Regions from separate parts of the Homo sapiens genome. Here regions 1, 2, 4, 5 and 6 are each linked to region 3. Evidence: promoter capture Hi-C in 16 types of primary human blood cells and fetal thymus (Javierre and others, 2016). All regions are on one chromosome and are shown on one strand. Each heading gives the region's core, a stretch centred on a gene start or on the middle of the fragment in contact. The rest is flanking DNA. Distances are from core to core; before and after follow the strand shown.

Region 1 (4,710 bases), core at 1,070-3,569, 1.1 Mb after region 3:
TAATCAGTTTTACTATCATGAGTTTTCTGTTGCAGCTTTTAGATCTATCAAGTCAAATTTTCCATCAAGTCAAATTTTCCAAAGCTAGGTTGAACAGATGTAACTTTGGTGAAGACTGATTCTATATCGATATTTATCAGTAACTCCAATTTTGTATTTTGAACAGTTTTAACTATAGTAATTTTCATTCTATGGTAATTATTTCTGTCTGTAATTTTCCTTGTGAGTTGGATTAAAGGCCACTATTTGGTAGTTATTCCTTAGCTAATCTATGAAGTAGTGGTGAGTAATCCCAGGTGGTTCAGAATTGCTTGATTGTTCAGGAAGGTCCTATAGCAGAGCTTACTAACTTTGTTATCCATCTTTCTGTGCCCCGTATTCCAGCTGCCTTCACCATCATTGAAGGAATATATAAGCAATATCCCTGGCATCAAAACACAAAAGGTTGTGTTCCCCAAGGGTTAAAGTGAACCCTCAATCGCCTCACCTCCTCTTCCTAAGTGTGACTTTTCCCCACCCTTCCACCTGACCTTAACCCAATGAAAACTCGAAAGTTGTTGACATCTGTGAGCTTTGATCAAATTAGGGCTAACAGCAGGTTAAAGGAAAAATCAGGTTTTTGAGGGCTGAAAAACACATTGGCCTTTTTCTTCCTTAAAGTTTTCTGAGCCTGGATCCTGGAACCAAGTCCTCCTCCTATTATGTGTTTATTGAATAAATAGACAAATGTATGAGCAGATTTTAAAAAACTGGTTAATTCCTAAGTTCCATGAAGGGCATTAGTAGAAGAAATCTTTTGAGGACCTACATTTTTTTAATCTGCAAATGATGCTCTCGTTGTTGTATGACTGAGAAACTCTCAACACAGAGACACCTCATTTTAACTTAACATGATTGTGCTACAACTGGCTTAGATTATTTTTCCTAATAAATGAAATTCTACAGAAATGACAGTTCCCTGCATTTTCTCCTAATCCATTTATTGGATTGATGTTCCATGAATTTTCAATACTTTACATACATTGAAACAAGAAGGTCAATCGTAACCTCCTTTCACCCCTTCTTGGAGAATTTCCTTCAACCAGAAATCCATCAGTTTGTTTTTTGGTGTGTGCTCAGCCCCTCTTTTGCTCTCTCCCTCCCCAAAGGGAACCCTTTTATAAGCTGAGATGAACCATTTAGATTCTCCCTTTTGAAATGGTCAAGCTGAGAAACCCAAATTGAGTTCTATGATCCTGGCACTGAAGATTCTCGGGCTAAGTCATAACATGCTTTGTGGTCTGTGTTTCAGAGAGATGAATGTAGGTGAGCTGTGTCTGGGGAAGGGAGGAAGGTACCAGGCCAATTACACTAACCACGGAAAGAGGTGAGGAGAGCCACCAGGTACCTGCAGTGGAAATAAATGGAAAAAGCACTTGGTGGAAACTGCACCGAAGAGGGGGTTTGTCGAAACAAAAACAATCAAAGACATAGGAGTTCAATCTGGGTGACTGCTGGGGACACAGATGCCTTTAACAAAGAGATCACAGAAAGCATTGCCCCTTTGAGGGTCTAGATGTTCAGCAGGCAACTCAAAACTGGGAATTCAAACAAGCCTCCCTTTGTGACTTAATATGTTCTTTTAAAAATTGTACTGTATTAACAGTTTGGTAGGAAAGCAATAGAATTACATTGTTAAAGAGTGTTAACATAAAGAAGGAAGAAACTGTAATTCCCCTATTACCGTTTTATGTTTTTTTCCAGTCATTTTCCGGATGTTTAAAAATATGTACTATTAGATTGCTTTTAAAGAAAAATTTTAATTTTGGATAAGCCAACATTTCTGAGTCTAGGGTTTCCAAAACTAAGGCTTTTGGAGGCGTGCTGGGTCAAAAATAGAAGCTCGGTAAATACTTGCTCAGTAGTGGCCTAGAACACTAAATATAAATTAAAAATGTTTTCTTTTTTTGAGGATTTAAATGTTTCCTTAACCTGAAAGCGAAACAGATTTTTGTTTGTTTTGCTGTAACGAGAGAGGAAGGAACAAGAGAGTGACAGGGTGAAGCAACTTCTCCCAGAAACTTTTGGGCGCAAACGCCCTCAAGTCCGGATCATTGGAAAGTAACTCGAAGAGAGGAGAGAACTAGCGCAAGCGTAGCCTCAAGGCGGCCGCAATCACCCCGCCCCGGGGCTGTCTCCGCCCCTGCCCTCTCTCAGTCGCCCCGCCCCGGGGGCTGTCTCCGCCCCAGCCTTCTCTTCGCGTTCCGCGTTCCGGGTTCCGGGGGAAGTGTGTTACGGGGACACTGGCCCGACTACTTTCGTTCCGTCTTCCATCGTTTTCTCTCGTGCAATGGCGTCCGGGCTGGTAAGATTGCTGCAGCAGGGACATCGCTGCCTCCTGGCTCCAGTCGCCCCCAAGCTGGTCCCTCCGGTTCGGGGAGTGAAGAAGGGATTCCGCGCCGCCTTCCGCTTCCAGAAGGAGTTAGAGCGGCAGCGCCTTCTGCGGTGCCCGCCGCCGCCCGTGCGCCGGTAGGAGCCACCTCGGGAAGAGGTCTCAGGGTGGCGGTCGCAGACACTGGGTCTTCTTCCCGCGGCGTCGTGTCTGCGGCTGATGCGCCCCTGGGTTAAGCCTTAGGAAGTTTGCGATGGAGACACCCGTGAGCTGTGGGCGCGGGGCCTGAGGCAAAAAAAATGGATTTGTGCCGCGGGCGGTAGAGCTTCGGGCTGTTCCCGACGTTTTGAAACTACCATTTAGGATTTTGGCTACTGAAAATTGGGAGAAATGGGGCTAACTGGAGGGTCTTCCTTATGTGGACTTGGATGTTGTAGTCCCCGTTTGTAATGCCTGAGAATTCCGATAAGCGGGAAGAAAGCAGCCCACAGCATCGTAAATTAAGGAGAAAAAAAATTAATCTACAACCTGAATTCTGCTGTCTAGAGTAAAAGGAAAAAAAGTTAGCTTTAGATTTTTGCCCTAATTAATGCTGTTCTGGTAACAGGTTTGGCAGAGAGAGACACAGGTTTTTATAGCTTCAAACCAGATCATACTTTACATAATTTAAATTCCTTCATCTTGCTTTTTCTCTTTAATAATGTGTGTTTGACATGTTGTCATGGTATTACAAAGATATGTACCTCACTCTTTTTTATGGCTCTGTATATATGGGCCTATGAGCTCCATATTATTGCCATTAAAACCTATGTAACAGCGCGTAAAGGGGACGCATGTGTAGTATGAAATTTTGAAAGCTATTAGTACTTTAACATTGCCCTCCAAAAAATGTTGATCCACTTTGTACTCCTACCAGTAGGAACGGTCTTCTAACAGAGAAGATTATAGCAAAAAATAAAATCTCTTCTTAATTCCCATTCCCTTGTTTATTATAAGATTAAGTATTTTAGGCTCTCAAAGGTGGAAGAAACTTTATGGGTTGGACAGATTATATAGGTGTATATGTTATATGTATATCTTACGACTTTCAACCTAGGTTTTCATACTTTGCTTCCCTTTGTTTCTTAAAGGGGTTTTATATTGTGTTACGTATAAGTAATCCAGAGATGACTTAAAGTATACAGGAGGATGTGCATAGGTTATATGCAGATACAGGTATACCTCATACATATTGTAGGGTTGGTTCTAGACCACGACAATAAAACGAGTCACATGACTTTTTTAGTTTCCCAGTGTATACCTAAGTTATGTTTATACTATTCTGTAGTTTATTAAGTGTACAGTAGTAGTGTCTAAAAAGCAATATATGTACCTTAATTTAAAATACTTTATTGCTAAAAAATGGTAACACAGAGACACAAAGTGAGCACATGCAGAATTGCTACAGACCTTCAGTTTGTAAAAATAAAATGCAATAAATCTGTGAAGCACAATAGACCGAAGTACAGTGAAACGAAGTGTGCCTGTACTACACCATTTATATGAGAGACTTGAGCATCCATGAATTTCAGTATCCAGGAGAGTCCTTGGAACCAATCCCCTACAGATATTGAGGGATGACTGCAAATATAACATACTAGTGTTTATGGCTTGAATCTGTGAAATTAACATTTATGCTTCATACTTAGGTATAAAACATAGTATCATGGTTAGAGCAGAAATAAGGAACCTAAAAGTTAGGCTAATGGCTTGGTCTTTTATATTGAAGAACCAATTTCATGTGACAATTGGATCAAAGGGAAAATTAATCCAGTCATATATGTAGAATATAGCAAAGGACTGCCAGTATTTATCTGACTTTAGTCTTAACATTTAGAATATCAACCTGGCATTAAAAAGAAATATAACCTTCTTTCATTTCCTTTATATAATTAATAACATTACAACACAGTGAACAATTTTTATATCACAGTAACAGGTTGTTCTCTTTACCATCTCTTACTGTCTTTACATTTTCAGTTCAGAGAAGCCGAACTGGGATTACCATGCAGAAATACAAGCTTTTGGACATCGGTTACAGGAAAACTTTTCCTTAGATCTTCTCAAAACTGCATTTGTTAATAGCTGCTATATTAAAAGTGAGGAGGCCAAACGCCAACAACTTGGGATAGAGAAAGAAGCTGTTCTTCTGAATCTTAAAAGTAATCAAGAACTATCCGAACAAGGGACATCTTTTTCACAGACTTGCCTTACACAGTTTCTTGAAGACGAGTACCCAGACATGCCCACTGAAGGCATAAAAAATCTTGTTGACTTTCTCACTGGTGAGGAAGTCGTGT
Region 2 (4,672 bases), core at 1,301-3,800, 1.0 Mb after region 3:
GTAGAGATGGGGTTTCACCATGTTGGTTAGGCTGGTCTCAAACTCCTGACCTCAAGTGATCTGCCCGCCTCAGCCTCCCAAAGTGCTGGGATTACAGGCGTGAGTCACCGTGCCTGGCCTAAATTCTCAACTCTTTTTTTTTTTTTTTTTTTTGAGATGGAGCCTCGCTCTGTCACCCAGGCTGGAATGCAATGGCGTGATCTTGGCTCACTGCAACCTCCGCCTCCTGGGTTCAAGTGATTCTCCTGCCTCAGCCTCCCAAGTAGCTGAGATTACAGGTGTCTGCCACCATGCCTGGCTATTTTTTGTATTTTTAGTAGGGTTGGGATTTCACCATGTTGGCCAGGCTGGTCTCGAACTCCTGACCTCAGGGGATTCACCTGTCTCAGCCTCCTAAAATGCTGGGATTACAGGCATGAATCACGGTGTCTGGCCTCTCAATTCATTTCTAATAGTCATAGCAAGTGGTTCATAGCAAGTGGTTCGTAGCAAGTCGTCACAAAGTCTAGGAGTCAGATCTCTTGCCTTCCAATCCTGGCTCTGCCACTTGTCAGCAGTGTCCTCAGGCACGTGACTCAACTTCTCTGTGCCTAGGTTTCCTTATCCACTGTTATGGTCTGGCTCTGTGTCCCTACCCACATCTCACTTAGAATTGTAATAATCCCCATGTGTCATGGGAGGGACCCAGTAGGATGTAATTGAATCATGGGGGTGGGTTTTTCCCATGCTATTCTCCTGGTAGTGAGTAAGTCTCACAATATCTGATGGTTTTACAAAGGGGAGTTCCCCTGCACATGCCCTCTTGCCTTCCATGTAAGACATGACTTTGCTCCTCCTTCACCTTCCACCATGATTGTGACGCCTCCCCAGCCATGTGGAATTGTAAGTCCATTAAACCTCTTTCCTTTATAAATTACCCAGTCTCAGGCATATCTTTATTAGCAGCCTGAGAATGGACTAATACATCTGTAAAATGGGATAACAGTAGTATATACCTCATAAGGTTGTGAGGATTAAGTGAGTTAATATTTGGGAAGTGTTCAGAATACTACGTGGCATACAATAAGTGACATCTAAGTCCAGGCAATGTGCCAAGTGTTTCATGTTTTTTTATTCTACTTAATTTTCATTATGTCCTAGGAGATACCGAGCAACACTATCCCTATTTTACAGGCAAAGAAACTGGCTCAGAGATTAAAGCAACTGTCAATGAGTACACGCAGATCCTGGGCAGATCCAGGAGTCCAGCCTGCCTCTCTCTGTGTATCCCTATGCTCCACACAGCCTCTGTATATGAGGCCTATCCACTTCTACCTATGGGGGTCTCCAAACATGGTCCTGGGCTAGGGCAACCTACAGATCTGAGCTCTTGCCTCAGGGAGCATGATTCTGTTTACAGGTTTAAGAAAGAATATTACTTTGGCTGGGCGCAGTTGCTCACATCTGTAATCCCAGCACTTTGGGAGGCTGAGGCAGGTGGATCACTTGAGGCCAGGAGTTCGAGACCAGCCTGGCCAACATGGTGAAACCCTGTCTCTACTAGAAATACAGATATTAGCCAGGCATGGTGGCACATGTCTGCAGTCCCAGCTACTCAGGTGACCGAGGCACGAGAATCGCTTGAGCCCAGGAGGCAGAGGTTGCAGTGACAAAAATATATGCTTAAAAAAATTTGAGATAACAAATTAAAATCAAAATCAGAAACAAATAGCTTTTTAGAACATATTTTAATATAAGAGATACCCCTAACTTTATTTCACTTAATACTCAGAATATAGCATTACACTGTAAGCTAACATGAGCCATCCTTATACTTATTATCTAAGAAGAAGCTTTCGTTTTGTGCTGAGAAGAGCAAGAGAGAGTATTAATCAGTTATTATAATTGCTTCACTCTCTTTTCTCCATCTTTTTGCACCTGCCAAATCTGAACAAAGATATGGCAAGAATAAATTCCATTGCTCTACTGCCACTAACTGCTGCACTCGTCACACTGCACTAGTATATAAAATGCTATACATTCTGTAACCTACTAGTTTTAAAATAAAGTTCTCTTTTCAAGAAGATTCATTCTAATTATTGTTACTTCCTCATTTATATTTTGTGCCTACTTCCAAAAAAGGATCCCTTCTCATTATGATCTGGCAGGGAAGCAAATCTGCTTCCAACTCGACAGCGTAGTGGTTGAAGCCACAGTGGGTAGTAAATGCTCCAGTTAGTATTGACAGGGGACTTGGAGAGAAATTCCAGGCAAGCATTGCAGAGCTAGAGGATCTGGGATCAATCCTCTATGCCCTGGTCTAAGAAAGTCCTATAAAACCCTAAAGGCCAGGCACGGTGGCTCATGCCTGTAATCCCAGCACTTTGGGAAGCTGAGGCGGGCGGATCACTTGAGGTCAGGGGCTCGTGACCAGCCTGGTCAACATGGTGAAACCCTGTCTCTACTAAAAATATAAAATATTAGCCAGGTACAGGTATGGTGGCATAAGCCTGTCACCCCAGATACCTGGGAGGCTGAGGTGGGAGAATCACTTGAAACTAGGATGCGAAGGTTGCAGTGAGCCGAGATCGCACCACTGCACTCCAGCCTGAGTGACAGAGCTAGACTCCGTCTCAAAAAAAAAAAAAGCCCAAAAATCCTAAGGCAGGGTCAGAACCTTATAGATTATAGCCTGTTTATCCTTGCAATACATTTTCTCAGTTATTAAAAAACAAACAAACAAAAAAACCCACTAAAAATAATGCATCTTTTTGACACAATTTGCCTTCCTGTCTCTTCTACAGACGCAGTGAATTGTGCACACAGGAAATGCCTTGATTGATGGGACTATTTTTTCTTTCCCTAGATAGAGAAATACACTCCACAGTGATGCACTTTGACGGTAGGAATCCCACTTCTACTTTCTAAGTACTTTTTCTAAAAGAATTTACCAACGATAAAAAGAGCAGGTTAAAATCTAAGTTGTGAAACCCTCGGGAAAGCCACCAGCAGTGCTGGGCACCAACAGTCTCCTCCCCTCATCATCCAGGGAATACAGCCTTTCTCTGAGTTTTCCGCTCTCTCAGAATAAGACTGAAAAATAATAGGCCAAGAGCCAAGAACAGTTTACTAGCTTTTCTTGCTGCATATAACTAGTAGCTGATAAACGTAAAACACAGTTCGAATAAATCTTTGCAAATATAGTATTATGCATCCTATAATTTATATATATATATACATATTTTTTAGATGGAGTTTTGCTCGTCGCCCAGGTTGGAGCGCAGTGGTGCAAGCTTGGCTCACTGCAACCTCTGCCTCCTGGGTTCAAGTGATTCTCCTGCCTCAGCCTCCCAAGTAGCTGGGATTATAGGCACCTGCCACCATGCCTGGCTAATTTTTATATTTTTTAGTAGAGACTGGGTTTCACCATGTTGGCCAGGCTGGACTCCAACTCCTGACCTCAGGTGATCCACCCACCTCAGCCTCCCAAAGCGCTGGGATTACAGGCATGAGCCACTGCGCTGGCCACATCCTATACTATTGAGCCAATGTATCTGTGTTTAATAATAAAATATTCTAAGCCTTACCAAATAATTTTTAGAAAATTCAAAAAGAGAAATTAACCAGCAGACATGTAATCCAAATTTCCTCTATCTGACTTGTCTTACAAAGTTACCAAAAAATCTCACAATCAGTACGTCTCTGTATTATGGATTGCATTTTATTATTTATAGGGTAGTCTATTTCTTCCACTAGATTACACATTTCTTGTGGGCAAGTATCTTTGTGTACAGTAGCCATAAAGTCTGGAAATGAGTAATGTCACCATTTAAAAAAAAAATAGATGAAAGCCCCTTGATCACTTCTACTGGAATATGCTAAAAATGAAGGTTTAATCAGTGAGAATCAGACTCACAAAGAATCAGAGACAACACAAAGCAGACACATGTGCAGGGACTGGTGGGAATTCTGCATCAACGCATAATGTCTATTACAATGGTGCACAGCACACTGAACAACATATTGCCATAAAGGACAGGATACTGAACAGATCATGTGATGTCATGCAACACAGTAGGTACTGCAATGCAATATCAATAAGCCATTTATTAAATACATTCACTTGAGTTTCCCGACTGTAAGGACACCCTGTAGGTGCCCAACAAATATTTCTGAAGTTAAACTATAAGTCATTAACATCCCTCATGATCTAAAATCTTCTCTGGAATCAACTTTTTTGCTAACAACATCGTAAGTTGTAGATGTCACTTAGAAAAGAAAGATAATGACAGTACAGGCAGAGATGAGAATGGAAACCTTGATTGGAAATCATTTGACGACATCTATAAAAAGCCTTAAGAATGTATATATCCTTGGACCCAGAAGGTCTATTTCCAGAAATTTGTCTGAAATAAATAATTGATCAATCACACAATGACAAGGTCAAGAATATTCACTGCAGCATTCTTCAAAATATTTAAAAAAGAGAATGTACACAGTGCCTCATGCCTATAATCCCAGCAATTTGGGAGACTGAGGCAGGAGGATTGCTTGAGCCCAGGAGTTTGAGACCAGCCTAGACGATACAGCAAGACCCTGTCTCTACCAAAAAAAAAAAAAAAAAATTGAAAAATAAGCTGTGCATGGTAGTGTATGCCTGTAGCCCCAGCTACTCAGGAAGCTGAAGTGGGAG
Region 3 (4,747 bases), core at 874-3,373:
GCAACCATCACCTTGATCAGTTAGCAGCCATCAACCCTGAGGTGAGACCCTCCTCCAGCAAAAAAGATTACAACTTGCTGAAGACTCAGGTGATTGCCAGCATTTTTTTTGCAATAAAGTATTTTTAAATTAAGATATGTACATTGTTTTGTTAAATATAATGCTATTGCACGCTTTATAGTATGAACATAACTTTTTTTTTTTTTTTGAGATGCAGTTCACTCTTGTTGCCCAGGCTGGAGTGCAATGGCACGATCTCGGCTCACTGCAACCTTCGCCTCCCAGGTTCAAGCGATCTCCTGTCTCAGCCTCCCGAGTAGTTGGGATTACAGGCGCATGCCACCACGCCTGGCTAATTTTTGTATTTTTAGTAGAGACAGGGTTTCATCATATTGGTCAGGCTGGTCTCGAACTCCTGACCTCAGGTGATCCGCCTGCCTTGGCTTCCTAAAGTGCTGGGATTACAGGCGTGAGCCACCGCTCCCGGCGAACATAACTTTTATATTTACTGGGAAACCAAACAATTCATGTGACTCACTTAATTTTGATATTCCCTTTAAGTGTCAGTGGTCTGGAACCAAACCCACAATGTCTCTGAAGTATCTCTATGTATTTCTACTTAGCTTGTTAAACAGCAAACAAGATGAGAATTTAGAATTTTAATTCCCAGGACCATTTTCTTTTAAATATAGGTCCATATCCATAATATATATTCCATAATATAAAGATAATGAAGAAAGATATTGTTGGAATTCTTCTAGTCTGTTTTAGGCTTATGGATAGATAAAAAGGTGCAATATTAGTTTTCTTCTCTCGGAAAAAAACCAGTATTTTCCAGAGGATTTCATGGTTCTAGAAGTACTACTTCTAAAGCCTGCTTCTCTCTGCAGAGCTGCGAATGTCTTTTCAGATAAGAAATTCTGCATTCCATTTATCTTCAGGATGTATCCTTTGATAAGATTTCAACAGATTAATGAGCAACTGAACTGCCATATTTTGAAGTGGGAGAACAGTTTGCCTGAGTCAGGTATCCATCCCTTTAGGTTCTCGATTGGCCCTTGGCCCACGGTGAGTGAGCTCTCTTTGCTTGGTGCATCATCGCTCCACCTAGTTCAAGTTCTGGCGGCTTCCTGATTTTGATTCTCTTGGGAAATGAGGCCTGCTTTAGCCTGAGGCTGGCTCAGGAAGGCAACCTTTCACCTACTTAAGGAAAAGTTCACAGGCAAACTAAACAATATGTTGGGTTAAAAAAAGAGACCAATCCTACTAGTACTGGGTGAGTGAAAATCTTCTCTCTTACAGTACATGTAGTTCTACTACCTGCACTGGATGCTTTCTTTCTTATCCTTGTTTAGTGTCTAAAACGAGAAACAATGGCAAACTCCTTAAAATACAGAACCACTGTGGATTCCTAAGAACGTTCAAAAACAATAATTTGGAGTAAACTTTATTTTTTGAAAAGAAATAGCAAATTTGCATGGTGAGTGCATTTAGAGGAAAACGGGTTATATGCTAGGTCAAGTGAGGCCAAAACAAGAGAAATGATAATGGATAAGCTTTGAGTTTTTGAGGCTCTTCTTGCCCCAGGCAGTTCCAAAAGCCATTTTATTTGGCAGGATTTGACAGCAATTTCTGCAAGAACGGGATAACTAATCCAGTTAAAAACGAAAAAGAATATGCATACTATTTCATAATTTATATTGAAATTTATACATTACAGCAATAATTGTGCGACTGTAATTTTTTTTTTTTTTTTTTTGGTGGAGGGGTGTTTTTTCCTGGAGGGACGGAGCTCCTGCAGACCCTATTGGGCTAGCCGCTCCTCCCACGTCGCTGCCGCAGATCCCCGCTCCCCTCCCCCACCCGCGGTCCGTCCCTCCTGGTCGACCCCGTTCCCGCCCCCGCCCCGCGCAGACTGCAGCCAGGTCCGGTCCGCGGCGGCTCCGCGGAATGACCCGTAGTAACCTCGCCCCGCCCCGGGCCGCCAGCGCCGCGCTCCCCGGCCCGAATTCGATAGGCCCAGCCCCGCACGCGCCACCGCTCGCGGGCCAATGGGTGGCAGCCTCTCTGCATAGGCAACGAGTGCCGGCCGGGGGTGAGCGTCCCAGGCGGTTCCGCTCAACAGACGCTGCTGTGGCTGCGCCGGGCTGCGACACTGCAGTTGTCTACGCGGCCGGGGCCGGGACGAGGAGGCGTTGGACGGGGTCGCATACGTTCGTCCCCTCGCATTGCGGCCCCGACAGCTGCGCCAGGATCCCCGGGCGGCGGCGCGGGGCGTGAACGCTCTGGGGCTCAGCCAGGCCTGCGCGGGCCCGAGGCCGGAGGAACCCGGACTCCGGCGTAGCGGTGAGTGCGGCGCCGGTTGTGGGAGCGGCGGGAGCCGGTTGGCGGCGCGGCCTCCGCGTGCGGTTCGGCTGGGCCCGAGGGGCTCCCCAGCCTCGGGGCCTGGGACCCTGTCGTCGGCGCCGCACCTGACCGCTGGGTGTGCGCGCGGGCGGCCCGCGGCACCAGGAGCAGCGGCGAGCAGGGTGGGAGGCGGCCCGCTGGGGTCCGGGAAGCGGCTGACGTGGGGCCTCGGCCCTGAGCCCACGCGAGCCGGGAGCTGCAGCGCGAACGGCGTGGGGCGGCGCTGACCAGGCAGGGAGGATGCACTGCGTGCCTCCCGGCGCTGTGGGGCGGGGTGGGGAGGCCACCCCCTTGAATTAAGAGGGCTCTGCCGCGGCCCCAGCAGTGCGGTGTCCGTGGAAGGAGACTCAGCCCTGCGATTTCGGAAAACCCTTGTTTGGCGGGGCGGGAGGGGCTGTTGCTGCGTGGGGTGAGAAGAAACTAGGTGCGTGAGGTGGGTCGACCTTGGTGATTGGTTCTGGGCACTATCGTGGTGGTGGGACTGGGATTAAGACTGTCGTTTGGGGTTTGAGAGTTGCAGCTTTGCTTTTCCCCAAGTGCGTTTTAATCATATACTGTTGATAGGTTGGGTAACTCGGGGACTGCTTACTACCAGCAGTCCTGTGGGGTAGGTGTTATCAGGCTCGTTTCACAGATGAGGAGCCCGAGGCACAGGTTTTCAAATGGTTTTCGCAGGAAGTCTGATACTAGAAAGTGTGCTCTAAGCTGCTGTATAAAAGATCCCTCGAAAATGAAAAGGCTGGAGGAATGTCTTTAAAATTATATGGAAGCTAGAAAGGCAGTAGGCTTTGTGAACGAAATTATAGCTGAAAAGAATGACAAATAGCTGACATTTATTGAGCTTTTATTACATGCCACGCACTGTTTGGAGAGCTTTATGTACAGTGTCTTCACACTGTTAACAGTCCTCTGGGGTGGGGGTTATTCCCATTTTACAGCGGGAGAAACTGCAGATTGGACGACTTAGCTTGCCTCAGATCTCAGCTAGTAAGAAGCTGGGATTCAGACAGGCCTGTGTAAATCCAGAGCTCTGAAATCTAAGCACTATATTTTGCTGCCTCTCCTTGGTGGCTGGCTGAATAGTTTCCACAGTGGATTTTAGTCTGGGTGGCCAGGAGAGTTGTAGTTTGATGATACCTTCTTTCATGTTTATCAACCTATTTTGTTTCCCCAAATTAGTTCTGAGAGTTAAGGGTGCTGATGAGTTGCTCCTGAAAGTGTATTAGAAGGGTATTATAGGGGACAGGTGGTGTGACATGGGAATCTTTTGCACAGACTTGATTTTGTTTTCTGGCATTTTTCTGGGCAGTTCCTCACACTTGGGGATGAGTAAGCCTTCTAATTGTCGCATGCGTTTTCTCTCTAGACTTTTCCTGGTTTCTCTTTTGTATAAAAATATTGGTTTTGTAGGATGACATTGGGTGTGGGGCAGAGTGGTCCATTGGACCTAAGGGTCAAGGTGACAAGTCACCTCGTATCTTTGGATCTCAGTTACTGAATTTGTAAGGCTTTAGACTCAGTGACTTAAAGCTTAAATATTCTGAGGGTCTAAAATGTTCTCCTTGAAGGAAGAAAGGAAGAATGGGAGAAATGAAGAACGCACAAATTATAAGGGGAAAATCATCCTCTGTCTGGTTTGGGGTGAGAATCAGATCTTAAAGCCTCGAGGTCTGTTTCATTTGCTTTTGTGTTTCCCTGCTGTTTGGTTCCAGTTAAGTGACTGTTTCATTCCTCATTTGATTAATTGACTCACCTAGAGCCATTTAATTTTTGTGATATGTCAGGCACCTTATTAGGTGCTGGGAATACAGCTGTGAATAGAGGGAAAAATAGACAAGAAGCAAATGGTCATACAAACGGATAGGTGGTTGCAAGTTTGATAGGTACGATGAAGGAAAAGTATTGTGTGAATGAGGATTATGAGCAAGATTGTGATGTAGATGGAAATCTAGTCTAGGGAGCTGTTTTTTGAATTGATGTGGTGAGATTTTGCTAGAGGACAGTCTTGAAATCTGAGCCTGCAATTATGTACATAATGCAAGAGTTTGGGAAGTTGTCAGCAACAATAATTCTTTTCATTGCACAGTGTATTTCATACTCAGAATGTCATCCCGGCTCTCATTGCAAGATACGAAAATGAGATAGGCAACTTTACAAGTTGTCATTCTGTCTGCCTTCAGGGTACTTAAAGCTTAAATAGTCCTCTAATACTTTCTCCCACTCAAAATGAACTGTAAGGGGGAGTAAGACTCTTTTATGTGAGATTTGGGCTTGAATATTGGATTTAGATTTTTTTTAGGAAAGCTAGGCCAAGGGTGATAGGCTTTTAAAACAACGAGCA
Region 4 (4,709 bases), core at 591-3,090, 1.7 Mb after region 3:
AGATCTCGCGAGAAGAGGGCGAGCGCGCTGCCCCCCTGGTGGGCGGGGCGAAGCCCGGGAGAGGGTGGGCGCCACCGGAGGGGAGGAGGGGAACAGGGAACTGAAGGAAGTGGGAGGGGCCGGCGGGGCGGGGAAGCGGAAAGGGGGCGTGGCTGAGGGCGGGAGGATTAAGCTGCCTTTTTGAAAGTGGAGCGCCAGGTCCCGGGTTCTGGGTGGAGGTGGTTGCTGATTGGTGGAGCTCGGAGCGGCGGTTGGGAGGGTCCTGGTCACATGGTGGGGAGTGGGAGGGGGGAAGTTCGGAGAGCGGGAGCGGGATGGTAGTGGGCTGGGCCCCACTGGGCTGGGACAGCAGGAGGATAGTCTTGAGGAGGAGCGTGGGGTGCTAGATGTGTAACTACGTCCCGAACTGGTTCCTGTGTTTTTCTAGGGCATGTGGACTAGGGATGGGTACTTGAGTAGAAGCCTGCAACTTGAAGAGTTTGTGCAGGAGTTAGCTGCAGTGTCGGAAATTAGTGTCCTGTATGCTCAACAAGGTATTCGGACTGGGTGTGCACACCACAGCTCTCAGGACTGGAAGGTGGAAATTTAATCTACGAAGTTCCCTTAAACTGCATAAGCTTCGGGACCTCTTGATTCACTGATATTTTCTGGTGGACCCAGGGCTTATTCATGTTAAAACCTGTTTTTCATTACCATCAGAATAAACTGACAGCTCCATTAATGAAATGCAGCATTTGGTAAATAATGTTAAGTGGAATGATAGAAACCTATCTTTAACCTACCGGATAAATCATTTCTACCATTACCAAGAGTATTGTAGATTTTTAAAGCCAAAATTACCGTCTGATTCAGTTGCTGTATATTTGAAAAGGTTTTGGCTTTTGGTTTTGGAGGAGAGGCGTTTGGTCGCTTTATAGTCAAAATGTCTAATTTGACTTATCGGTTTTGCTGTCCATTTGTTATGAATTGTACTTCCTCATTTACCTACTTGCCCAATTGCTGTTATGTTTGGGTTTCTGACTCTGCAAGGGAATACGTGAGTTCTTATTAAAGTTTGTGTTCTTCCTATTTTAAAGAAGCATATGTTTGGGGGATGGATATCTACATTTAGAAGCTGGAATTTTAATACTTTTAAATAGCAAACAATATAAAGTGAAATACACTTATTTGTTGACTGTAAGGTTGAATTTGCCCTAAATTAACTTAATCCTGATGACTAAGCTTATGAGTGTTGTGCTTAAAGCCCCTTCTTGCTTAAAACGCCCCACTGCAAATACCATATTTTCTTGTTTTTTTTTTTTTTTTGTGGGAGTTTTTTGGTATTGGCTAATTAAAGCAGGAGCTTAAGAAACAAGAATGTTGCTTAAGACAATATCTGTAAATACTGAAGCTAAAAATAGGTTATCAAGAACTGAGTTGATAAACTAAGATTGGGAGAGGCTCTGACTTCAATGTAAGATAATGTCAGCCTTGAATAGGAGTTTATAATCTCTATGCTAATTGAACCTCCATTTCCATAACATAATATAATAACAAACAATGTTTTTCTCTTGGTTGTACTCTCATATGGCCCAGTTTCTTTGTAATGTAAGAATATATGTTCAGAATAGGGATCTCTGAGGAACCAAAAAAAGAAATAAAAAAATATTTTAAAAAAGAATATGTGTTCTTGGAGCCATTGTTTGAATCTCAATTCTGCCACTTTACTAGCTGTGTTTTGCATCTTTTGGGGCATGGAGTTGACAATCCCCAGAATTTCTCATCTGTAAAAGGGAGACAATAACAATACTTCCTCCTTGGGCTACCGTGAAATTTAAATAGATGAATACGTTTTAAAGAGCCCTGAGAACTGGGCATGGAGCAGCAACTTACCACCTGTTGGCTGTTATTAACATGGGCATTAAAGCCAAGGTTATACTACTTCCTTTATTCAATAGGTAGGTTTCTAAACAACAACAACAAAAAACACTTGTATGCTTTTATAAAATGAGTCATATTTTGAAACTAAGCCAGTCTCCGACATTTGGATCTCTCAGACTAATAAAATATTTTCTGATAAGCTAGGGAGTCATTATAGATTTGGCAACTTTATATTGGCAAGGGTATTAAAAAGGAACAACTAGCATAGATTATTCCCATCATTTATTAAAAAGTATTTTAACCTCAGAAATGAGGGAAGATCCATTTTTGAATAAAGGACAGTTCCTTGAATTGAACAGCCTCGTAATGAACAATACGTCACACGAATTTTTCTTATTTCACTGTGAACCTAAGGAGACATCATGGGCCAGCATTTAGAAACCCACTACATTAAGGTATGTTTCTACTTAATTGTAAAGCATATAGTAAGTATAGTAACTGTAATGTATTTGCTTTGTGAACCCAGATTTTCGTATATTGGTGTTGCTTAACCAAAATTTAGCTGCGTCTAAAAGCATCACTGTGAACTGTGTCTTCCCTTAAGCTTTTAACCACCAAGGATCAGAAAAATGCTTCAAAATGATTTTGTCATTAAGAAGTCTGCTCATTTATTTGTTCAGTTATTCATTTATTCAATAATTATTATTGAATGGCTACTGTATGTCAGGAACTAGGGTGAATGAGACAGATGGGACCTGCCATCACATCCTTTTTCACATCTCACAGTTTGTAAACCACAGACCCATATTGGATTTGGCCCCAACTTTGTATATGCTTCAGTTCTGAAATCAGATATTTTCCTTCCTGTGGAAGCAACATCCTCAGAATGTCTATGAAATACTTTCTGAAGCAGCAGTAGATTATTTTTCTGTGCCCAGTCATATTCCCTGACTTGCAAATAGCAAATAAACTTTCAGGATGTTGCTTTTCTGCAAACTGCCACCTGATCTAGCAGAGAAAGCAGCACTGGAATAGGAACTCACTAGATCTTGCATGGCTGGCGATTGGTATTCCTACTCATGCTGACAGTGTCCTGACACAGGAAAACAGTGGCCTCATTTCCATTTATTCTTTCCATTTATGCATATGGAGCACATGCATTCAGAGAGATCAGGCAGTTGGGTGGGCCAGCCCCTTTTCTACATCCCAGTCTGTGAAAGAGCAATATAAGATGTGAGGAGCTGGTAAAAGGAAGTAATAGCCTCTTCTTGACCATCAGTTTCTAGGTACTCGGGATACCAAGTCACTTTAATCAATGTTTCAGATCTGCTGATTTTATTGTACAGATATTGGTTGTTAAAACAGCTCAAAGCCTACAATTTCAATTTGAAAGACCCGTTCAATGGTTTTGAGTAGACCAAGACTATGTTAAGAGAGAGAAAATGTTTTTAAGTTGGAAGGCAAAGATGTATAGATATTATCAGCTCTTGGAATGGAAGGGCTAGATCTTCTACTTTCTTGTCTCTACCAGGCAACTAATAAGTATTATAGGCCATTAGATATGGAGTTGTATATATTTAGGGTAGTAGCATGTGTATGTGCATTATAAGATGACATTGTCGGCAAATACCCCATTGAGAACATAACCACAGATGCTTAAATATGTGAAAACTGTAGGCCTTCTCCATGCAACTTTTCTACTGTGTCCTTAAAATTTTTCTTATATTATTGAGACAAGAAGCATATGAGACACATAAGCATATGAGACGTTACATCTTAAACTAAAAAATGTTAAATGTCTGATTATATCATAAAAATCCATCTCAGTATTTCATCATATGGTCATACAAAAGAAAATCATCTCCCTGGCAGCTCTGGAAATGTTCTGGTTGGCTTGGACAGTCTGTTTATTCCACATGTACCCAATAAATTAACATTTTGTAAATAAAAATATCTATACAACCAACTAACCCAATTGAACATAATATAGATTCTCAATTTAAAAATATAGGCATGGCTTCTATGTAATCTTATTTCAAAGAAAAAGAATTTCTTCTTATTAATACCATTGTAACAGTAAATGTATCAAGAAACCTCTAGGGGACAGTTATGAGTATGTATTGCTTTCATTCATGACAAGTAAAATATATGTTGAAGTTTGTAACTCATCAGCTCTGTCTTTGTGAAGTAAGTTAATTTTGGAGTTGAGATAAAGCATTGTGCCAAAAGAGCTATAAAAATAATGGTCTAAATTTTATGTTAGATTTAGTAATTGTATGAATTATAAATACTACAGTGGACAAATGTAATAAAATGGCATTATCTTTTTTTTGTTTTTTGAAACGGAGTCTCGCTCTTTTGCCCAGGCTGGAGTGCAGTGGTGGGACCTCAGCTCACTGCAACCTCTGCCTGCTGGGTTCAAGCAATTCTCCTGCCTCAGCCTCCCAAGTAGCTGGGATTACAGGCGCCCACCACCATGTCTGGCTCCTTTTTTTGTATTTTTAGTAGAGATGTGGTTTCACCATGCTGGCCAGGCTGGTCTCGAACTCCTGACTTCGTGATCCACCCACCTCGGCCTCCCAAAATGCTGGGATTACAGATGTGAGTCACCGCGCCCGGCAATGGCATTATCTTTAAACTTCTTTAATAAGCTCTTTGTCTTCAGTTCGTAATAAAACTATATTCTTAACTCTTATATCTAGAACTGGTAGAAATCAGAATCTGAGAGAAGGAGCCCTCGTAAAGAAAAGAACCTTTAAGAGACTAAAAGATGTAAAAATTCTTGGGGCCAGGCCAGGCGTGGTAGCTCACGCCTGTAGACCCAGCACTTTGGGAGGCCAAGGTGGGAG
Region 5 (4,871 bases), core at 2,104-4,603, 1.1 Mb after region 3:
GGCCACTGTCCCTTCACCCAGGCCGCTAAAACAATCTGATTCTCCCACCGCCACTCTGGCCGTGCCTCAATCTGTTCTCTACCCAGTAGCTAGGGTGATCTTCGAAAAATGTAAATTACATCATGCTATTCATCTGCTGAAAACACTTTAACAGCTTCTCACTGCAATTACAATAAAATTTAAAGCTTTACCCAGACCTACAAGACCTTGCATGACCCGGCCTCTGCCCAATTCTCCAATCGCCCTAGGGTGCCCTCCCTATATAGCCCTGCACCATCAAGCCACTATAACATTGACTTCTGGAAACTCTTCCCTGGCTCTCTGCCTGGCTGGCTCTGTGACAAAGATGCCAAAAAACTTAAATGGGGGAAAAAAAATAGTCTTTTAAACAATTGGTGCTGGGATAACTGGATGTCCACATACAGAAGAATAAATGTGGAACCCCTCCCTGATACCACTATAGGAATTAACTTACAATAAATCAAAGATCTAAATGTAAAGCTAAACTATAAAACTCTCAGAAGAAAATACAGGTGTAAATCTTGATTTACACCTATCTTTACAGATATAAATGACCTTGGATTAGGCAATAGTTTCTTAGATATGGTATCTAAAGCTTAAGTAGCCAAAAACAAAAAAGATAAATTGGACTTCACCAAACTTAAAAAAAAAAAAAAAGTAAAAAGGCAGCTCTTAGGAGAAGATATTTGCAGATCATATATCTGATAAGGGTCTAGTATCTAACATACAGAAAAAAACTCTTACAACTCAACAATTAAAAAATACTCTATTAAAAATGGGCAAAGGACTTCAATAGATATTTCTCCAAAGAAGATATAAATGACCAACAAGTACCTAAGAAGATCCTCAACATCACTAGTCATTAGGAAAACGCGAATCAAAACCACAATCTGGTACCATTTCACACCCCCCAGGATGACCATAACAAAAACAAAGCAAAACAAAACAAGCAGAAAATAACAAGTGTTAGCAAGGATTTGGAGAGCCGGAAACCTTGCGTGTTGCTGGTGAGAATGTAAATGGTGCAGCCACTATGGAAAACAGTTTCATAGTTGCTTACAAGTTCAATATAGTCACCATATGACCCAGCAATTCCACTCCTAGGTATACATACCCAAGAGAATAGAAAAAAATATGTCCATGCAAAAACATGTACATGAATTTTCATAGCAACGTTATTGATAATAGCCAAAAAGTGAAAACAACCCAAATGTCTATCAACTAATAAACGGATCAACCAAATGCAGTATAGAATGCTATTCCACTGCAAAAATAATTAATTAATTCAAACAGGCATGAACCTTGAAAACATTATGTTAAGTGAAAGACAGACATAAAAGGCCACACATATTGTATGAGTCTATTTATATAAAGTGTCTAAAATAGGCAAATCCTTGGATTCAGTAAATTAGTGATTTCCAGGAGCTGGGGGAAGGGGCAATGGAGAGTGACTGCTAATGGGTATGGGATTTTTTTGCAGGGAGGGGTGATGAAAATATTCTGGAATTAGAGAATGGTGGTAATGGTTGCACAATCTTATGAATATGCTACAAGACCACACAATTATATACTTTAAAATGGTAAATATAATTATGTTATTTAAGTTATATTTCAATTAAGAAAAAACAAATGTATGCATACAATTTGACGCACAAAAATGCCAGTCTATAACAGACTAGAAACTTGAATATCAGGTCCTTTGCCAAAGATAGTTTGAGAAGTATTGCCTTAAAGAGTTCTGTGAGTTGCTAGCTGAATGACCACACACACACACACACACACACACACACACACACACACACACACACACAGAGTGACAGAGGCTCTCCACCATCACGGCTAAGGGATGGGGGCTGCTATAGGTGACGTATTCACTCTATGAAGGCTATGATCTGTGGGTCAGCCCGAGCACCCAGCTATCAATTACGACAGCATTCTGAGCTCCAAGGAACTAGTTTAAAATTAAGCAATAATTTAATCCATTTTTGACCTAATATCTATACTGAATTAAACTTTTTTTTTTTTTTTGAGACATGGTTTCCCTCTGCTGCCCAGGCGAAAGTGCAGTGGTGCAATCTCAGCTAGCTGTCAGCCTTGACCTCCTGGGCTCAAGCCATCCTCCCACCTCAGTCTCCTAAGCAGCTGGGACCACAGGCATGCACCACTACCAATTAATTTTTTTGATTTTTCGTTGAGATGAGGTCTCACTATGTTACCCAGGCTGGTCTCAAACTCCTGGGCTCAAGCGATCCGCCCGCCTCAGCCTCCTAAAGTGCTGGGATTACAGATGTGAGCCACTGTGCTTGGCCTAAATTAAACATTTTTCATGCCAAACAATCGAGCATCCATTGTTAATCCAAAGTTAACTGGCCAATATGGGACATGGGAGGTCAATATAAAGAATATAATATAAAGAATACAATAAATACATTCTAAAAGCTACCTACCATTACAGCTCCATTATCCTGGCCCACAAATATCCGTCTGCTGTCATGATGGTAAGCCATAGCAGAGCAAGGAGCTGCCAGAAAGACAAAGACCACATTACCAGCAAAGCTAAGCACTTTAAGTTGTTCTTCAAAGTGATTAAGAACTATATGATAAGAACTATATAATTTAGGTTCACAGAAAGAGGGTAAAAACGTTTTATACAAATTACGTAAATTGAAAATGTTATTAAAGTTCTCTCTGTTGTCTTAGTTTAAAACCTTGATTTCACAAATCTTCTCAGTTGTTTCTATAATGCTGGGTGAAGTGAGCCAGCATGAAGCTTCATCTGACTGAAAGTACTACCTGTAGTCTGGCAAGCCTTGGGGACCAGTGCTTGTAGTGTGTGACCTGCTGCCCAAAAGCTCAGGAGGTCATCCCGCCCCTGCCACCCTTCCCATCAAATGTCAAAGAGTAGCTGTGCAAAGATGGGTTCCCAGCACCAGAATTCCCATTCTATGGCATAAGTGAGCATATGTGAGGTGCAGATATATGGCATATGTGAGTTGTGAAGTGCAGACAGGTTTCCTTGTCCTCCTTCCATGTTCTACCCTACCCTCTTCCAGAAATCACAGGCTAGAGAATGAGTTTCAGAAAGGAGAAATTCTAAATTGTCTTTTACCAAAAATTAGAATTAAAGTGATTTATAAATTGGAACATTTGGAAAAAAAATGTGGGTTTGTTTCAGCCTAAGGAATTTTAATTAGCAATGGAAGAACCAAAACAAGGAAATGCATGCTAGGGAAAAACAAAACAAAACAAACAAATTTGAATTCACTTTGGAATAAAACTTCTCATAAAAGACGGGTGGGTAGGGTGGCTCATGCCTGTAATCTCAGCACTTTGGGAGGCCAAGGCAGGAGGATTGCTTGAGGCCAGGAGTTGAGATCAGCCTGGACAACACAGTGAAACTCCATCTCAAAAAAAAAAAAAAAAAAAGATAAAAGAAAAAACGTCTTTTAAATGAAGTCACCATTTGAATATAAAGTTCTCTCTCTCTAGTAGGGTGATATCCTCACCAAAGGAAGGAAGTAAACTATAATACTGGATCGTACCCCAAAGCAAAAACATAGCTAACTGCATGATCAGACCATAGAGACTGTTTCAGTTGCATCCAAGAACTATGTAGTTGGCTCTGAAAGGTACGTACTGAAATTGTGCACAAAACAATTAGAATTGACTATGAGCCTGTATACCCTTATCTGACACAGTGATGTTTGAGATTAAAAGAACGATCAAGTATTATGACCACAAAGATATATATACATATCTTTATACAATCAAAATGTTCTTTAATAAACCATGCATACACTTATCTTTGACAAATCAAATCATGCTTTGATGCGTTCAGAGATTCACTGTCATCATTTTTGCTTGCTTTCTAGCTGGCACTAAATGCATTAGTTTTAAGCTTCTTTTCAATTTTTTTAATGCCCAACCCTATAACAAACAACATAAATATGTAAAATCCCTCTTTTGTGTAAAAATTACAAAGTGCTGGGTAATTTTATGAAGCTAGACAACTATAACATTTCAAAAAGAAAAAAAAGGCTTCCTTAGTTTGTTTTGTATTATATAGTAATATCCTGGCTCTCTCCCTAGAAAGGAGGTTTCTAACTGAGATAAGCAATATAAATTTAATGTAGAAGGGGAGGGGTTGGATATAAAGCAAAATAGGAATCATCTTTCAAATCAGTTAGCTTTTTTTTTTTTTTTTTTTTTTTGAGATGGTGTCTTGCTGTCACCCAGGCTGGAGTGCAGTGGCGCAATCTCAGCTCACTGCAACCTCCGCCACTTGGGTTCAAGCGATTCTCCTGTCTCAGCCTCCTGAGTAGCTAGGATTACAGGCAGCCACCACCACACCAGGCTAATTCTTGTATTTTTAGTATAGACAGGGTTTCACCATGTTGGCCAGGCCAGTCTCGAACTCCTGACCTCAAATGATCAGCCTGCCTCGGCTTCCCAAAGTGCTGGGAATACAGGCATGAGCCACCATGCCCAGCCAAGTCAATGAACTTTTAAAAAGCCATCACTGCAGTCCAAAATCAAATGTTTAAAACTTTGGATCACACCAGAAGGCCAAATTCAGCTGACTGCATGTTTTGTTAATAAATAGTTTTTTTTTCCTTTGGAACATAAACCCTTTCATTTATGATTGCTTGCATGCTACATTTATATATAACTTATGATTGCTCACATGCAATATTTATGTCTTGTTTATGACTCCTTGCATGATAGGAAGGCAGAATTGAGTAAGTGCCACAGAGATTGGCCCACATAGTCCAAATGTTTACTGTCTGGCCCTTTGCATAAAAAGTTTGTAGACCTACCCATCACTGTGGTGAGAAGCATAGGTTTGGAGT
Region 6 (5,045 bases), core at 362-2,861, 1.1 Mb after region 3:
AGCAGAACCCTAAGCTGACCACCCAAACCACTAATGACCTGTGACTCCCAGGTGTAATGGCATTAAGCTTTGATATTCCACATTGGCTTAATACTCTTTGGAGTGCTGACCGTATCTAGCTTTGTCATATGCAGTTTGATTACAGTGAACTAGGTGGCTATCTGTGAATGACCCCAGGTAAATATATCCCAGAAGGTGACAAAAAAAAAGAGGATAAAATGTAAGCAGTATTTTTTTTTTTTTTTTGAGACAGGGTTTTGGTCTGTCACCCAGGCTGGAGTGCAGTGGCACGATCTCAGCTCACCTCAACCTCCGCCTACCGGGCTCAAGTGATCCTCCCGTCTCAGTCTCCCAAGTAGCTAGGATTACAGGTGCACACTACCATGCCTGGCTAATTTCTGTATTCAGTATTCTTTCTTGGTGGTTGTACATAGGCAAGCACAGTGACAAATAACCCTCCTTTCTTGTAGAGCCGTGGTTCTAAGTGTGGTCCCTGGACTAGCAGCATCAGCATCAACGTCACCTGGAAACTTGGCAGAAATGCCAACTCTCAGGCCCCACCTGACTTTCCAAATCAGAAACTCTGGGGGTGGGGTCCAGCAACCCGAATTTCAACAAGACCCCCAGGTGATTCTGATGCACATTCAAGTTAAGGAACCAGTGTTCTAGAGAGGCCAGATAAGTACATGAAGCCCGGACTGGGGTTTCTCAATATCAGCACTATTGACATTTGGGGCTCAATAATCCTTTGGTGTGGGGCATAACAGGATACTGAGATGCATCCCTACCCTCTACCTAGATGCCAGTATTAGTTACATACAGTATTAGTCCGTTTTCACACTGCTGATAAACACATGCCAGAAACTAGGTAATTATAAACAAAATGAGATTCAATGGACTCACAGTTCCATGTGGCTAGGGAAGCCTCACAATCATGGTGGAAGGCAGAAGACATGTCTTACATGGTAGCAGACAAGAGAGAAATAGGAACCAAGCCAAAGGGGTTTTCCCTTGTAAAACCATCAGATCTCCTGAGACTTACTCACTGCCACGAGAACAGTATGGGGGAAACTGCCCTCATGATTCAATTATTTCCCACTGGGTCCCTCCCACAACACATGGGAATTATGGGAGCTACAATTCAAGATAAGATTTGGGTGGGGACACAGCCAAACCATATCACCTCCCCCACATCATGACAACCAAAAATGTCTCCAGATATTACCAAATGTTCCCTGGGTGGGAAAACCACCCCTGGCCCAGAACCACTGGCCTAGATTTTACAAAAGTGGATACTAACTTCAGGAAAACCTTCATACCTTTCACTTTTCTTCTCAAAATGCTCTCAGCTAGTTCTCACTGCTTTTAGCGTTTGTAAAATGAATTCACTTCAGCTGGACCCTACTTTAAATGTAAAAAGCTACTGGCTCATGCCTGTAATCCCAGTACTTTGGGAGGCCGAGGCGGGTGGATCACGAGGTTTGGAGTTCAAGACCAGCCTGGCCAAGACGGTGAAACCCTGTCTCTACTAAAAATACAAAAGTTAGCTGGGTGTGGTGGCGGGTGCCTGTAATCCCAGCTACTCGGGAGGCTGAAGCAGGAGAATCGCTTGAACCTGGGAGGCAGAGGTTGCAGTGAGCCAAGATCATGCCACTGTGATGCATGCAGTAAATAAAGATTACAAACAGTCTCATTTGTTCAGGCCAAATTTTAGCACCAAACGAGTTTTCAGGTCCAATTTACACACACACATACACACTTCTGACGTTTAGAATGCACTAAATTTTGGAACTGCTGATAAGAGAAGGTGACTGTACCTACCTTATAGGGAGGAAGTGTGAGGATTGGATCCAATAACACATAAGGTCCAATTCTGTACTCGTAGAGAAAAGGGACTTTCAACAGGTTAGCTATTGTTATTTCTAAATTACAAATTCCGATCATATCATTTGCTTGTTTTGAACTCTTTGATGGTTCTACACTGCCTGCAAAATAAGGTCCAAATTCCTTATTTCTTTCTTTTTTTTTTTTTTGAGACAAAGTTTTGTTCTTGTTGCCCAGGCTGGAGTGCAGTGGCGTGATCTCAGCTCACTGCAACCTCCGCCTCCCAGGTTCAAGTGATTCTCCTGTCTCAGCCTCCCAAGTAGCTGGGACCACAGGTGTGTGCCACCATGCCCAGCTAATTTTTGTGGGTTTTTTTGTTTTTGTTTTTTGAGACAGAGTTTCACTCTTGTTGCACAGGCTGGAGGGCAATGGCATGATCTCGGCTCACTTCAACCTCTGCTTCCTGGGTTCAAGTGATTCTCCTGCCTCAGCCTCCCAAGTAGCTGGGATTACAGGCATGTGCCACCACGCCCAGCTAATTTTGTATTTTTAGTAGAGATGGGGTTTCTCCATGTTGGTCAGGCTGGTCTCAAACTCCTGACCTCAGGTGATCCACCCGCCTCGGCCTCCCAAAGTGCTGGAATTACAAGTGTGAGCCACTGCACCCAGCCAATTTTTGTATTTATAGTAGAGATGGGGTTTCACCATGTTGGCCAGGCTGTTCTTGAACTCCTAACCTCAGGTGATCTGCCTGCCTTGGCCTCCCAAAGTGCTGGGATTACAGTCGTGAGCCACCGCACTTGGCCCCCAAAAACTTTTTTTTTTTAATTTAAAAAACAAAACAAAACCGGACACTGGGTCCTTCTAGCTCTCAGTCTTCTCTGTTGCTATTGTCACTGCCCACCTTTTGCTCTGGTCACTTAGAAATAGCTATGGTTCTTTCCCTCTTACAATTCCCTCCTGTCCTTTCCTCCTTCCTCTGCCTGGGATGAGGGTGCATCCCTCCTTCCTTTCTAGATGCCACTCCTCTATCCATGAAGACCAGCTCAACGACCTTCTCTAGGAGGCTGTCCCCAAACCCCGGCCCCAGCCCAAAGAGCCTCCTCTTCCTGTGTCTTCCCAGCACTGGATGCTGAATACATAGGGGCCATCTCTTCACTAGACTGTTCAGCCCTTGGGAAAGAGCAACTTAGCTGTCAGCTGTCTCTCCCCCACAGGTCTAGCATGGGCCCCACACACGTGCTGGGATTACAGGCGTGAGCCACCTTGCCTGGCCAAGGTAGTGTGGCTTTTGACCCCTGTTGTGTCCTCAGGGCCTGACACTCAATAAAAAAGCTTTTTCTAAATGAATGAGTAAATGAGTGAAGAACGTGACACGTATTTATGACAATGTGAAAACAAACCACCATGGCTAACACCAAGAAAAAACCCACGCCCATGTGCTTTCATTACATCTCATGAAGTGTAGCACCTACTAAAAAGGTTGTTCTCCCTTCAAGGAAGTTGCAAGAGCCTGAACACAACAGAAACCTCAAACGCCAACCCCATCCTGGTCCAGTCATCTACCTGGGCTCTGCAATAACAGTGGTGCACGAGTGAAAAAGTGAGCAGATGCAAGCTCCCCCAGAACGTTTCAGTCCCAGAGCAGCTTAGTAATCACTTTCCAAAAACATTTATCAGCACTGCTCCTGACCAGCAATCTCAAATATTTAGCAACTTACCCAAAACGCATGATTCATGAATAAAATATTTGACCGAATAAAGGCTGCTAACTTTTTTTTTTTTTTGATACGGAGTCTGGCTCTATCGCCCAGGCTGGAGTGCAGTGGCACAATCTTGGCTCACTGCAAGCTCTGCCTCCCAGGTTCACGCCATTCTCCTGCCTCAGCTTCCCGAGTAGCTGGGACTACAGGCGCCTGCCACCACACCTGGCTAATTTTTGAATTTTTAGTAGAGACTGGGTTTCGCCGTGTTAGCCAGGATGGTCTCGACCTCCTGACCTTGTTATCCACCCGCCTCGGCCTCCCAAAGTGCTGGGATTACAGGCATGAGCCACTGCGCCTGGCCAAAGGCTAACTTTTTTTTTTTTTTTTTTTGAGACGGAGTCTCGCTCTGTCGCCCAGGCCGGACTGCGGACTGCAGTGGCGCAATCTCGGCTCACTGCAAGCTCCGCTTCCCGGGTTCACGCCATTCTCCTGCCTCAGCCTCCCCAGTAGCTGGGACTACAGGCGCCCGCCACCGCGCCCGGCTAATTTTTTGTATTTTTAGTAGAGACGGGGTTTCACCTTGTTAGCCAGGATGGTCTCGATCTCCTGACCTCATGATCCACCCGCCTCGGCCTCCCAAAGTGCTGGGATTACAGGCGTGAGCCACCGCGCCCGGCCCAAAGGCTAACTTTTAAAGAGTGTTGTCTGCATCTACGTTCACATCATGCAAGAGTCATTATTCTGGCCGGACACCAGTGGATCATGCTTGTAATCCCAACACTTCGGGAGGCCAAGGCGGGTGGATCACGAGGTCAGGAGATCGAGACCATCCTGACCAACATGGTGAAACCCTGTCTCTACTAAAAATAGAAAAATTAGCTGGGCGTGGTGGCAGGCGCCTATAGTCCCAGCTACTCAGGAGGTTGAGGCAGGAGAATCGCTTGAACCTGGGAGGCGGAGGTTGCAGTGAGCCAAGATGATGCCACTGCACTCCATCCAGCCTGGGTGACAGAGCAAGCCTCCATCTTAAAAAAAAAAAAAAAAAGTCATTATTCTGTCCTTGCCTTTTTCAGGTCCCCACCTTCTCCCCAGGTCTCATGCACTCGATCTCTCTCACTCCTTTCTGCTTTACAGACCCACAGCCAGGTCCTGCCAATCACTCCCCTCCTTGTTGGAAGTCAGCTACAGGTGAACCAGCAGGGAGAGGCCACTGCCTGCTCACAATCAGCTCATTATCTAATTGAGGAAAAAGGCACAAGCTCACTCAAAAGCAAAATCCAAAGGACCAACAGGAGTTGGGGGCTTCAGGCTTTTTCTTCCCATTCAGGATAGGGTCAATGTCACTTCAAAAGGTATAATTACAAAAGGCTAGAGACCACGCCTTCAGCTTTAAGAGAATAGCAGTACCTTCCATCCTCCAGAAAGCTTTTGGACTTGTGGACTATCCCTATTTAAGACGGCTCATTGCATCAAGGAAACACAGTTTCATTCAATAAACATCAGTCATTTCCTTCA

What was found. The method cuts DNA at HindIII sites, captures the fragments that hold promoters and counts their contacts. A CHiCAGO score of 5 or more calls a contact.
Region 1: the fragment with the promoter of MRPL44 here is called in contact with the fragment with the promoter of ACSL3 in region 3 in 4 of 17 cell types (naive CD8 T cells, naive CD4 T cells, fetal thymus and 1 more); the score reaches 7.3 in naive CD8 T cells.
Region 2: a fragment that was not itself captured here is called in contact with the fragment with the promoter of ACSL3 in region 3 in 1 of 17 cell types (M0 macrophages); the score reaches 7.1 in M0 macrophages.
Region 4: a fragment that was not itself captured here is called in contact with the fragment with the promoter of ACSL3 in region 3 in 1 of 17 cell types (fetal thymus); the score reaches 5.3 in fetal thymus.
Region 5: a contact is called between a fragment that was not itself captured here and the fragment with the promoter of ACSL3 in region 3, in 1 of 17 cell types (M0 macrophages). The highest score is 5.1, in M0 macrophages.
Region 6: a contact is called between a fragment that was not itself captured here and the fragment with the promoter of ACSL3 in region 3, in 1 of 17 cell types (M0 macrophages). The highest score is 5.1, in M0 macrophages.

What each region holds. Positions count from the first base shown.
Region 1 is chr2:223,955,144-223,959,853 of GRCh38, forward strand. It overlaps MRPL44 (mitochondrial ribosomal protein L44), which reads left to right and starts at 2,320. Exons shown (of 4, transcript NM_022915.5): 1 at 2,320-2,508; 2 at 4,391-4,710. The coding sequence starts at 2,330. RefSeq lists a silencer at 2,095-2,164 and an enhancer at 2,235-2,404. The HindIII fragment of the contact is 10,687 bases long and covers 1-4,429 here.
Region 2 is chr2:223,888,769-223,893,440 of GRCh38, forward strand. The region is part of intron 8 of WDFY1 (WD repeat and FYVE domain containing 1); the gene reads right to left. Among named protein-coding and RNA genes, the nearest start is that of AP1S3, 54 kb to the left of the region's middle. The HindIII fragment of the contact is 1,440 bases long and covers 1,831-3,270 here.
Region 3 is chr2:222,858,913-222,863,659 of GRCh38, forward strand. ACSL3 (acyl-CoA synthetase long chain family member 3) reads left to right here and starts at 2,124. Exons shown (of 17, transcript NM_004457.5): 1 at 2,124-2,346. RefSeq lists an enhancer at 1,839-2,133 and silencers at 1,850-2,179, 2,250-2,619. The HindIII fragment of the contact is 2,380 bases long and covers 1,555-3,934 here.
Region 4 is chr2:224,585,522-224,590,230 of GRCh38, forward strand. No RefSeq gene overlaps it. Among named protein-coding and RNA genes, the nearest start is that of CUL3, 2.5 kb to the left of the region's middle. RefSeq lists a silencer at 1-315. The HindIII fragment of the contact is 1,243 bases long and covers 1,220-2,462 here.
Region 5 is chr2:223,909,785-223,914,655 of GRCh38, forward strand. WDFY1 (WD repeat and FYVE domain containing 1) reads right to left here. Exons shown (of 12, transcript NM_020830.5): 3 at 2,469-2,542. Among named protein-coding and RNA genes, the nearest start is that of WDFY1, 33 kb to the right of the region's middle. The HindIII fragment of the contact is 1,128 bases long and covers 2,790-3,917 here.
Region 6 is chr2:223,938,627-223,943,671 of GRCh38, forward strand. The region is part of intron 1 of WDFY1 (WD repeat and FYVE domain containing 1); the gene reads right to left. LOC124907989 (a long non-coding RNA gene) reads left to right here and starts at 4,598. Exons shown (of 2, transcript XR_007088100.1): 1 at 4,598-5,045. The HindIII fragment of the contact is 3,092 bases long and covers 66-3,157 here.